Linked DNA regions of Homo sapiens: region 1 is linked to region 2. The links are contacts of gene promoters, found by promoter capture Hi-C in blood cells and fetal thymus (Javierre and others, 2016). All regions are on one chromosome and are shown on one strand. The core of a region is centred on a gene start or on the middle of the fragment in contact, and the rest is flanking DNA. Distances in the headings are between cores, read along the strand shown.

Region 1 (4,982 bases), core at 864-3,363, 270 kb before region 2:
AGCAGGAAGACATCTTACACAGAATAGTAGCCAAAGTTTAATCATTTAAACAGTTCCCAAGAATCTTGTTGTAGAGAAATGACATTTTATGTGGGGTCATAAAATGATTGCATGAAAGCATTCTAAGTGTGAAAGAACCTACTCTGCCACCAAGGTTCTAAGTACCTGCCTCGCTGTACCCCTGCTCACGCTCTTGCTCTGATAGGAGGGGAGAAATTGGCTCATGAACTTAAAGCTGCTGGTGTTTCTCCTCGCTTGGCACCTCCCCCTTGGCTGTAATGACTACTCAGGAGTAGAGCCTCTGACTTCAGACAACACAGCTGGGAAGGGGGAAATGGTTCAGAATCCAACATTGCCTTATGACTCTTCATATTTCTGTTTGATTGTGGTTATAACAACTTGAGAAATTCTTTGGCTACAGTTGAAGGGGTGCTCAACCAAAATGATGGCAGATTGTTGTTTTTGGCAGCACCTCCCTGCAGGGTGCAGATGGTTAGAAGCTTTTGTTTCAATATTAGGCCAGGCAGTAGGGGGAGATAGAGAGCTCCTTTTTTGTCAACTTTGGAGTAAATTCGTCTTTCCTATGATGATCAAAGCCAGTATCTCAGTGTCCTATCATGGTAAGGACAGATGGGAGCCGGTGATCTAATTGTCATTTTAGGTAAGAGCCCTTGGGTTTATGTGAACACTTCAGGGTCACAGAGGAAGCCAGTGAGGACCAGTACCTGGATCTTCTGACTCCTAACTACAGTGATCATCCACTGTGTTCTCCTGGGAGCTGAGAGGCCCTGCCTAGTGCCGGCCCCCTCCTCTCAGTCCTCTAAACTCACTGCCCTTCTGTAGTATTCAAGTCTGTCCTCCCTAGGCTGGCAGCTCTGTCAGCACCCAGGTTGTTAGAATAGTTGTTAAAACAGGTCATTCTGTTGCCAAGTAATTACGGGGCCTTGCACTCAGTACCTTCCCACGAAGCAGGCCGTAGTGTGCTTACTGCTCTCCCTTGCCTTTCCATCCCCTACTTTGATGTGGGAGTTTTCTTTCTTTTTACTTTTCTTTTATTTTCTTTTTTTCCGCCAGTTTCCCTCCAATATGTGAGGACTTTTATTGAGTTAATGTGTGGGCTTCTGTGAGTGATTTGGAGTTCCTTGGATTTCTTTTATTCATTTTAGTCTACTGACCCTACTGCTTAGGCCCAGTTTATAGCTGGAGCTTTTATCTGTTGGGTGTGTGTGTGTTTCTTTATTACAATGTGAAACCTATGATACTTATTTTTCACTCCAGGAAAATAATGCCACATTATAATGTACTTCACATACTTAGTGACTTAAGAACATGATTTGCCAACATTTGAGACTTTGAGACTTTACATTGAAAAAGTGACACGGTTTTAAGGCTTTCCCAGCAAGAATTCATGCCTTTAGCCATAGTACCGTTTTCATATTTGTAGCCCAACTTCTGTGGGCAGTGTAACCCCTGCTTGATGGAACAGTGCCACTGAGTTTCAGCTGGTATATGTAGCACTAATTTTTCATATTTATGGAATGCATATAATATGAAGTTAAAACAGCACCTGGGCCTCTTATTACTCCTGCCTGCCAGAACATTCACTCTGGTTCAACTAGTACTCAGGGTTTTTGTTTTTGTTTTTGTTTTCTTTTTTTGATTGTAAAAGTAATACATCAGAGGAAACTTAGCAAATAAGTATAAAGAATAAAATTAGTCTCATTACCCAGAGATAACTATTTTTAATTTTTGCGTATTTCCTTTTCCTCTTAGTTTAAAATTAAACTGAATGATAACTTGCAGATAATTTTCTGTCATGCTTTTTTCTTAACATGATTATTTTTCCTTGTAAATAAAAACTTTATAAACATTGTAAATGATTGCTTGAATACCTGTGGTTGGATAGTCAATGATTATTTGTATTGAGCACTTGTATGTTTCTGTCTCTGTCTCTTAGCTTTAGGCTAACTTTCAGTGTTTGGATTATTTTCTTCCTGTAGATTTCTAGAAGTGGTTCTATGTATATGTGCAGATGTCTGCTTGTCTTTTAAGTATACTGAAGGTCATATACATTTCACGGTCTCTGCCACCAGAATGCGTTCCTGCTGTAGGAGTTCTTGTCTTTTCCAAAGCATCTTAACCAGTCTAGGACTTCATTGAGCTTATTTTGTATAAACCTCTATACAAGTTAAGGATTAGTCTTTTGTTTTATGAAGGAGTAAACACAGAATAGTTTAATTAGACTAATGGAGCTCTCTTCTGGCTTTTAAATGATCTTGTTTACATTTGAGATAGCTGTGTGAAAATAGCACATACTTCTACTATAACATTGACTTGAGTGAGCATAATATTGAGAGCAAGGTTCAGATTGCAGAAATTTGAGCTGCCTGTTTGACCTAGTGGGTGCAAGTTATTTTGAGCAAGGTTCTATTTTAGTCTTTATGAATGTTCTTACTACTGTTAAGGTGGGCCTTCTACTCCCACTTAAAATTGGGATTCTGAAGAAAGTTAAAATTGGATTGTGGCATACTTTGCAATCTTGGAAGTTAATCTCTGACTTTGTTTTTCTGTCTCTAAAATGTTAGACTTGAAATAGATCAGAAAGAGTCATTTTCTGAGATCAGGGCAAAGTATTCTGGTTATAATCAGGAGTCAAGTGAAACCTTTGCAGATGAAAGCCATGAGCCCCAAAGATATGGCATGCTTTATGTGAAGAGGATGGTACTAGCCAGCTGTCATGATGGCTGTGCAAGCCTCCTTATTTGTTTTTTTCCTTATTGAGGTCCTTTATCTTTAAACATCTGTAGGAAGAAGTATGATTAGCTCTCTTTGCCTAATTCTGCCAGTAGCTACTTTGAGAATTTCAAGCACAATAACTTCGCAAACTTCAACTCAACAAAAATTTACCAGCAGCCTTTCTGAGAATTATTGGGGTTTGGACAGTAATTATGAATGGACAAATCCTACTTTTACTCATGATGTCCTTTTCCCAGTCCTTTCCTTTTGCTCACAGTGTGTCTGTTCTGTGGGGCATAGACTCAGTAGGAATTGTTCCCTTTAAGATACCATTTACCCCAATTATGGTGCAGTGATGATGATCTGCTTTGCATATTTCAGGTTCTTTTTGGCTTTTTCCATTGAAGCCAGTGGTCCTCCCAGCGTTTTATCTTTGATGTGACTTTTCATTGATAAAGTAACACTTTACCTTCCTGGGACAACAGATTCCAACACCTTAACTAATCTGAAGTTGTTAGCTTCCACCTTCCCTCGTCACATGGGACCTTTAGGGCCAATTTATTTTCCTGCCCACATGAGAAGTCTCCAGTAAACTAGCTGAAGGTCCTCAGCATGTAGCATGCTTTGTCTCTCCAGTGTTTAAAAGAAATCATCACATTCACATGAGCATACCCTCTGCACCACCCTCCCTTTATAACTACCACCATATCCACTTCCCTTGCTGCCTCTGCTTCTCAGCCTGTTGCAGCTTGGCATGCATGTCTACATTCCACCCAAGTGGCTGTCTTCAGAATTTCCCCCCTTCCCCCCACCCCTGCCCCCAGTGGTCTAATCTCAAAACCCAAAAGGTACTTCTTAGTCTCTGCCTCTTGGCTCCCTTTCTCTTTTTGGCCCTGTCTGCAGCATTTAATATTACTGTATTACAATGTATTTGCATTTCTGGTTTCTGTGTACCACCCTCTGCTGGTTCTTCTGCTTTTTCATCCTTCAATAAGCTTTTCTCCATGCCTTTATTGTAAATGTTGCCATTCCTTTAGCCTTTTCTCATTCTGGACCTTTTTTTTTTTTTTTTTTTTTTTTTTTTTTGAGATGGAGTCTCGCTGTTGCCCAGGCTGTAGTGCAGTGGTGCGATCTGGACTCACTGCAACCTCCCACCTCCTGACTTCAAGCAATTCTTCTGCCTCAGCCTCCTGAGTAGTTGGGATTACAGGCACCCACCACCACACCCAGCTAATTTTTGTATTTTTAGTAGAGACGGGGTTTCACCATGTTGACCAGGCGAGTCTTGAACTCATGACCTCAGGAGATCCACCCGCCTCAGCCTCCCAAAGCGCTGGGATTACAGACATGAGCCACTGCACCAGGCCTGGACCTTTTCCTTGAGTGCTTTATACTTAGGCTGGCTTCAGTTACCAACTGGATGTTGATGGCCTACCTCTAGATCTCTAGGTCAGACCTCTTCCATGTACTTCAGACTCATGTATCTCATTTCCACAGACACCTCAGACAGTATGGCTGCGACAGACTGTCTCCTTCCTTCTCACCTCTCCTTTCCTTCTCTTTCCTTGGCTTGGAGAGTGGCAGTGCCATCCATCAAAATCAGACACTAGGCCTCATCCAGTGTTTCTCCTGATTTTTTTCAGCTCCCAAATCTGTTGCTTTGGCCTCCTTGTCACAGCCTCTCCCTCAGTTCCTCTGCTATGCCTCTGCCAGGTTGACCTCCCACCACCATCTTCCATAGCTGAGTAGGTGCTACGCCAGTGTGGTTTTTGCTCCCTCTCAATTTTTCATGAATCTGCCTCCCTTCTCTGCGTCTTTGTCTCCACTTCCATCACCTTAGTCCACTCTGTCATCATCTGTCCCCCCTGGATCCTTGCAGTAGCCTCATGACTGATCATCTACATCTGCTCTTAGGCCCTATAATCCATTCTTCACATGGCAGCCCTATGATGTGTTCAGAATGCAGCTCTGAGCATGTCATTCCCCTGTTTAAACATTTAAGTAGCTTCTCATTATTCCTAGTTCTTCGAATATGGGCCCAGTGGCCAGGTGTGGTGGTTCACACCTGTAATCCCAGCACTTTGGGAGGCTGAGGCAGGCGGATCACTTGAGTCCAAGAGTTTGAGACCATCCTGAGCTACATGGCAAAACCCCGTCTCTATCAAAAATTAAAAAATTAGCTGGGCATCGTGGTTCATGCCCAGCTACTGGGGAAGCTGAGGCAGGAGGATCACTTGAGCCCAGGA
Region 2 (5,388 bases), core at 1,799-4,298:
GCCTGCCAGCACTTGGGAGGGGCCGCATGCGCAGTGTGTTTACTAAGGTTGTGCGCATGCTCACTTGGGGTGATTTTCCCTTACTGGTCCGTCGCCGCAAGAAAAAGGTCATATACAAGTCAGACTCCAACATTTGCCCTTCTGCTCGACCTTACCAGGGAATTGTGGTTTGCTGGCTCCAGATGATGTCAACTATCTGTTAGGGAACTCCTCTCCCTCTTGGCGCCATTCGTGGCCACTTATCATGTCAGAGGGACAGTTTTATGATCGCCTGTCCATCATTTGATGCACTGCCATTTCTGGGGGCCCTCTCCTGCACAAGAACACAATAAACAGCCTTGTTAAAAGAGTCCCTATTTCACTGCAATAAGACTGAGTGGTGGCCAGAGTGGTAGCAGCTGTTGCTTTTGTGGAATTGGATGGACAGCCTGGTAGGAGAAAGGCCCAGGGGTTCTGACCAGCAGTGGGGTCGTGCTGCTCCCTGAGGCCTCTGCTGGGTCCTGGGCCATCAGCAGGGACCTTAGCCAGCAGTGGGCACCTGCAGGGGTGGAGGCCAGGCCTGGGCCATGTGGCAGCTCTAAGGTCCAAAGATTGCTGCTGTGGGAAATTCCCACCCCTGCAAATGACTCCCAGCCAGGGACATCCTTAAACTGCTGCCAGAGGAAGAGTGACATCTATGTCCCCATAAGATCCTTATGCTCCAGAATGTCCTCCCCCACTCTCCTCCCCTCCTGGGCAGGCTGAGGTCCAGGAAGCAAAGGCCCCTAGGCACACTGGGGATGCACCTGTGAGCCCTTTCCTGCTCCAAAGCCTCCCAAAGGCTGGCTCCTTACCCTGAGGCCTCTGCTCAGCTTGTTGCCTCCCAAGAGAACCCTGCCCTGACCAGAGTTTTGGAATGGCATCCTGCAGACCTGGACTTAAATTCCTGCTGGGTGACTGCAGCCTACATCACTTCACCCTGCCAAACCTCAGTTTCTTCATCTCAAGACAAGACTAAAATATCCACCTGGGGTTGCTGATGCAAGGATGAGAGGAGACGTGCAGCTTAACCAGCACAGCGCCTGCACATAGTAGGTGCTCAATAAATATCAGTTTCTTTCCAATTTCTGCTGGGTGCTGCAAGGATCTCAGGAAATGGAAGACTCAGCCGTGCCTGCAAGGAGCCATCAGACTGGTGGTGTGGGGACTGAGGGGAGGGACGGATGAGGATCCCAACAAACCTCAGCCCCAGTGACAGGAGCAACACGGTACAGAGGAGCAGAGAGGCCTGGACTGTGGGGTTCCCTGTGCTTAACGTGGGACATTCTGATCTTAACCTCAGTGCCTGCCAGTGCTGTTTGTGACCTATTGGGAGTCACCCTGTTAATCCCACCACATTCAGTTGGTTGAGGCCATCATGAAAACCTGCCCAATTTCAAGGGAAGGGGGCAGAAACATTACCTTTTGATGGAAGGAATATCAAAGAATTCGTGGGCATATTTTTAAAGGACCACAATTATCAAAAAGCAGAGTGGTTAATGCTGTGGTGGGGAAAGCGCAAAGGGTTCTGGGACCTCAGAGGGGACCCTTTCTAGAATCCAGAGAAGCATGGGAGTGGTCAGGGAAGGCTTCCTGGGGGTGAGGGCAAAGCAGAACTCACAAATGTAAGCAGGGCTGGGGCAAAACTCTAAAAATTAAACACAGTCTGTACTATAAATTTTGTTTTCCAGAATGAAATTTTACTATCTTTACTTACTGCGAATATATGCCCGGGACCATACCCCCAAGAAAATAAAAATTTTAGAGGCTGGGCATGGTGGCCCAAGTCTATAATCCCAGTATTTTGGAAGGCCAAGCGGGAGGCTTACTTGAGCTCAGGAGTTCGACACCAGCCTGGGCAACATAGCAAGACCTCGTCCCTACTAAAATACAAAAAATTAGCTGGACATGGTGGCTCACACCTGTAGTCCCAGCTACTTAGGGGGCTGTGGTGGGAGGATCACTTGAGCCCAGGAAGTTGAGGTTGCAGCGAGCGATGTTCATGCCACTGGACTCCTGCTTGAGCAACAGAGTAGACTTTGTCTCAAAAAATGAAAAAAGAAAAAAAAATTGTACGTATCAACAAGCAAAAACTTTTTTAACACTTATAATTCTACCCCCACAACCAGAGACAATGCCTCATGACTCCTTGCTAAATATTTTCCAGATTGTTGAACATAGAAGCCTATTTTGAACCCCCCAAAATAGAACCTTACTCTATGGTGCCATCGGAAACGGATGCCTCATGACATCCCTTTCCTTGCCAAGAAATACCTTTATTTCTGCAGCCTCACTTTAAGGGGCATGTCATAATTCATTTAACCAATGCCCTTCTGGTGGATACATGAGGTTGGGTCTCACTTCTCCTGTCCTGTTTCCCACAGCATAGCAGTGGTATCTTGGAGCAGTGATTTACTGGCACACTGACTCAATTATGTATTTAAGGGCAAGTCCCTGAAATTGAATTCCTGGGTCACAGGGCATGCAACTGTTTAAACATTTGCCAATTGCCTTCCAGAAAATTTCACCACCAGCAAGGTTTGAGAAACACTGTTTTCCCATTGGGGGAAACATTTATTTTTTAAATAAACGAGCCAATATATTTTAAAAAAGAGAGTTTGGTTGGTGCCAGATGTAGCTTCACTCTCAACCCTGCCCTCTGCTGGGGGTGAGATCTCAAGGGAGCTATGTGGCTTTTTTGAACCTCAGTTTCCTCATCTGCTAAACCAGGCCTTCCTAGCCGAGCTCTTAAGAGACTGGCTGAGATGAGGCAAGATGAACAGTGATGAATATGGGGTCTTTCTGTGGGGAGGGTGGACAGGGATGATCATAGGAGTCAGGCTTCCTCATCCACTGATCTGGGCAGTGAAAACTGGCTTCTAAGTATGACCTTATGACTTCAGTGATGTCGCAAGCAGGTTCCAGTCCCTGTGCCTCCCCTTCCCGCTCCCAGGAACCCATCCAGCCTCAGGAACTGCCCCCAGCCATCGAGCCTTGGCTACTTAAGGGACCTGGGCCCAATCCACAGCTGGGACAGTCCTGGCCCACTGCACTGGGAATCTAGGATGGGGGCCTTGGCCAGAGCCCTGCCGTCCATACTGCTGGCATTGCTGCTTACGTCCACCCCAGAGGCTCTGGGTGCCAACCCCGGCTTGGTCGCCAGGATCACCGACAAGGGACTGCAGTATGGTAAGAAGCCACATCTGCTGGCTGGACTTGGCAAACCCACGCTCCAGGCTGCTCTGGGTACAGTGGGGACAGGGAGTGGGGACACAGACCGGACCCTCTCCCTGGGGCAGTGCCACCTTCTGGGTCAGGTGGCTCTGGCTCCTATTCTGGCCTTACTGCCCACCAGCTGAGTGCCCTGGGCATGTTATTTGTGGTAGTGAGGTCCTCCACCAGCCAACAGAACACAGCTTTGCGTGCAAGTAGTTGATTTGGGAAATGATTCCAGGAAACACTGTAGGGAATCGGTACTGAGATGAGGAAGGGAGGGCAGCCAGGAGAGAGTGTGCAATTAAACCAGCCACCACCTCTGATGATGGGAACCACTCAGCTGGGAAAATTCTGCGTAAAGTTTGGAAACACATGCCTCTGAACTGGAAGTCAGAATTGTGGTCACCTCTAGAGGCAGGCAGAGACCCTGAAGGGCATGAGGGAGGTCTGCCGGGGTGCTGGAAGTTGCCATATCTTGATCCAGGTGGTGATCACATTCCTGTATAAACATTAAAAATTATTTAGCAATACCTTTAAAATTTGTGCCCGTTAGGTACTTTATGTATATTATTCCTCAATTTTAAAGAATGGGCAGGCCAGGCACAGTGGCTCACGCCTGTAATCCCAGCACTTTGGGAGGCCGAGGTGGGTGGATAGCTTCAGGCCAGGAGTTCGAGGCAAGCCTGGCCAACATGGTGAAGCCTCGCCTCTCCTAAAAATACAAAAATTAGCCAGTCTTGGTGGCAGCCAACTGTAATCCCAGCTACTTGGGAGGCTGAGGCAGGAGAATCGCTTGAACCCGGGAGGCAGAGGTTGCAGTGAGCCGAGATCATGCTGCTGCATTGCAGCCTGGGCAACAGAGGGAGACTGTCTCAAAAAAATAAATAAAAATAAAACAAAGAATGAGCAAAAGTAGGAGTATTTTTTTTTAAATACTGAAACAAAGCCTCCCGACTATCCAGGTGGCATGGGAACTGGGATATTTATACACCACAGTGATTGATTGAGGGCTTCTGGGCCGGGGGTTTGTCAACTCCCCAGCACTTCTGTCCTGTTGCATGTACCTGCTTTCTGCAGTTCCAGGACAAAAAGCCTCGGGACATACAGGCTCAGGGAGGCAGACATTGGCAGCTGGGAGTCAACTGTCACTCACTGGAAAGACTCAAGGATATGGACAGGCACTGACCACATGTCTTCTCACATCCCTAGAGCCTCAATTGCCTTACCTATTAAATGAGATAACAACATTCCCTTAGATAGGGTTGTTGGGAGCCCAGACTGGCTCGAGACAGGCAGAGGGAAATCAGGGAAGGATTCCAGGATATAGTAAAATGGAAAAGACAGTGGGAATTACCCAGGGACAAGGGGTAGCGTTCCAGGCGGAAGGACCCCAACATGTGCGTTTGCTAGAGGGAGAAGAGCAAATTGGAAAGAGGTGAAAGGGGAGGCTGCTGGTCATCTGTGTACCCATGTCTGCCTTGGGGACAGAAACCTGGGCCCCTCAGATCTCGGAACAGTGGGACCTGGTAACTGCTACTTGCATTGAAACTGTAAATCAGGGAAGTTTCTCTTTTGTTCCTTTGCACTGTGCACACACACCATGTTTATGTAACCAGTCCTCTGAGGTTGGACATTTTGGTCCTTTCCATATTTTTTTTTTTTTTGAAACGGAGTCTCACTCTGTTGCCAGGCTGGAGTGCAATGGCACAATCTCAGCTCACTGCAACCTCCGACTCCCTGGTTCAAGTGATTCTCCTGCCTCAGCCTCCCGAGTAGCTGGGATTACAGGCACATGCTACCACGCCCAGCTAATTTTTGTATTTTTAGTAGAGACAGGATTTCACTATGTTGGCCAGGATGGTCTCGATGATCCACCCGCCTCGGCCTCCCAAAGTGCTGGGATTACAGGCGTGAGCCACTGCGCCCGACCCCTTTCCATATTTTTAATAATATAAACCCTATTTGCTGTTCCAGGCATTTACTGAGTGCCTGCTGTGTGTCAGGCACCAAGCTAGGAGTGCTTGTTATCCTCACAGCCCCCTTCTTGCTTTGCAGTTTCAATGGCATGCCAATGAGGAAAGTTTAGTTTAGTTTAGTTTAGTTTAGTTTAGTTTAGTTTAGTTTTGTTTTGTTTTGTTTTGTTTGAGACAGAGT

The links. The method cuts DNA at HindIII sites, captures the fragments that hold promoters and counts their contacts. A CHiCAGO score of 5 or more calls a contact.
Region 1: a fragment that was not itself captured here is called in contact with the fragment with the promoter of LBP in region 2 in 1 of 17 cell types (monocytes); the score reaches 6.1 in monocytes.

The regions. Positions count from the first base shown.
Region 1 is chr20:38,073,115-38,078,096 of GRCh38, forward strand. The region is part of intron 6 of RPRD1B (regulation of nuclear pre-mRNA domain containing 1B); the gene reads left to right. Among named protein-coding and RNA genes, the nearest start is that of RPRD1B, 42 kb to the left of the region's middle. RefSeq lists an enhancer at 251-360. The HindIII fragment of the contact is 3,231 bases long and covers 499-3,729 here.
Region 2 is chr20:38,343,434-38,348,821 of GRCh38, forward strand. It overlaps LBP (lipopolysaccharide binding protein), which reads left to right and starts at 3,049. Exons shown (of 15, transcript NM_004139.5): 1 at 3,049-3,207. The coding sequence starts at 3,084. RefSeq lists an enhancer at 325-1,102. The HindIII fragment of the contact is 10,913 bases long and covers 1-5,388 here.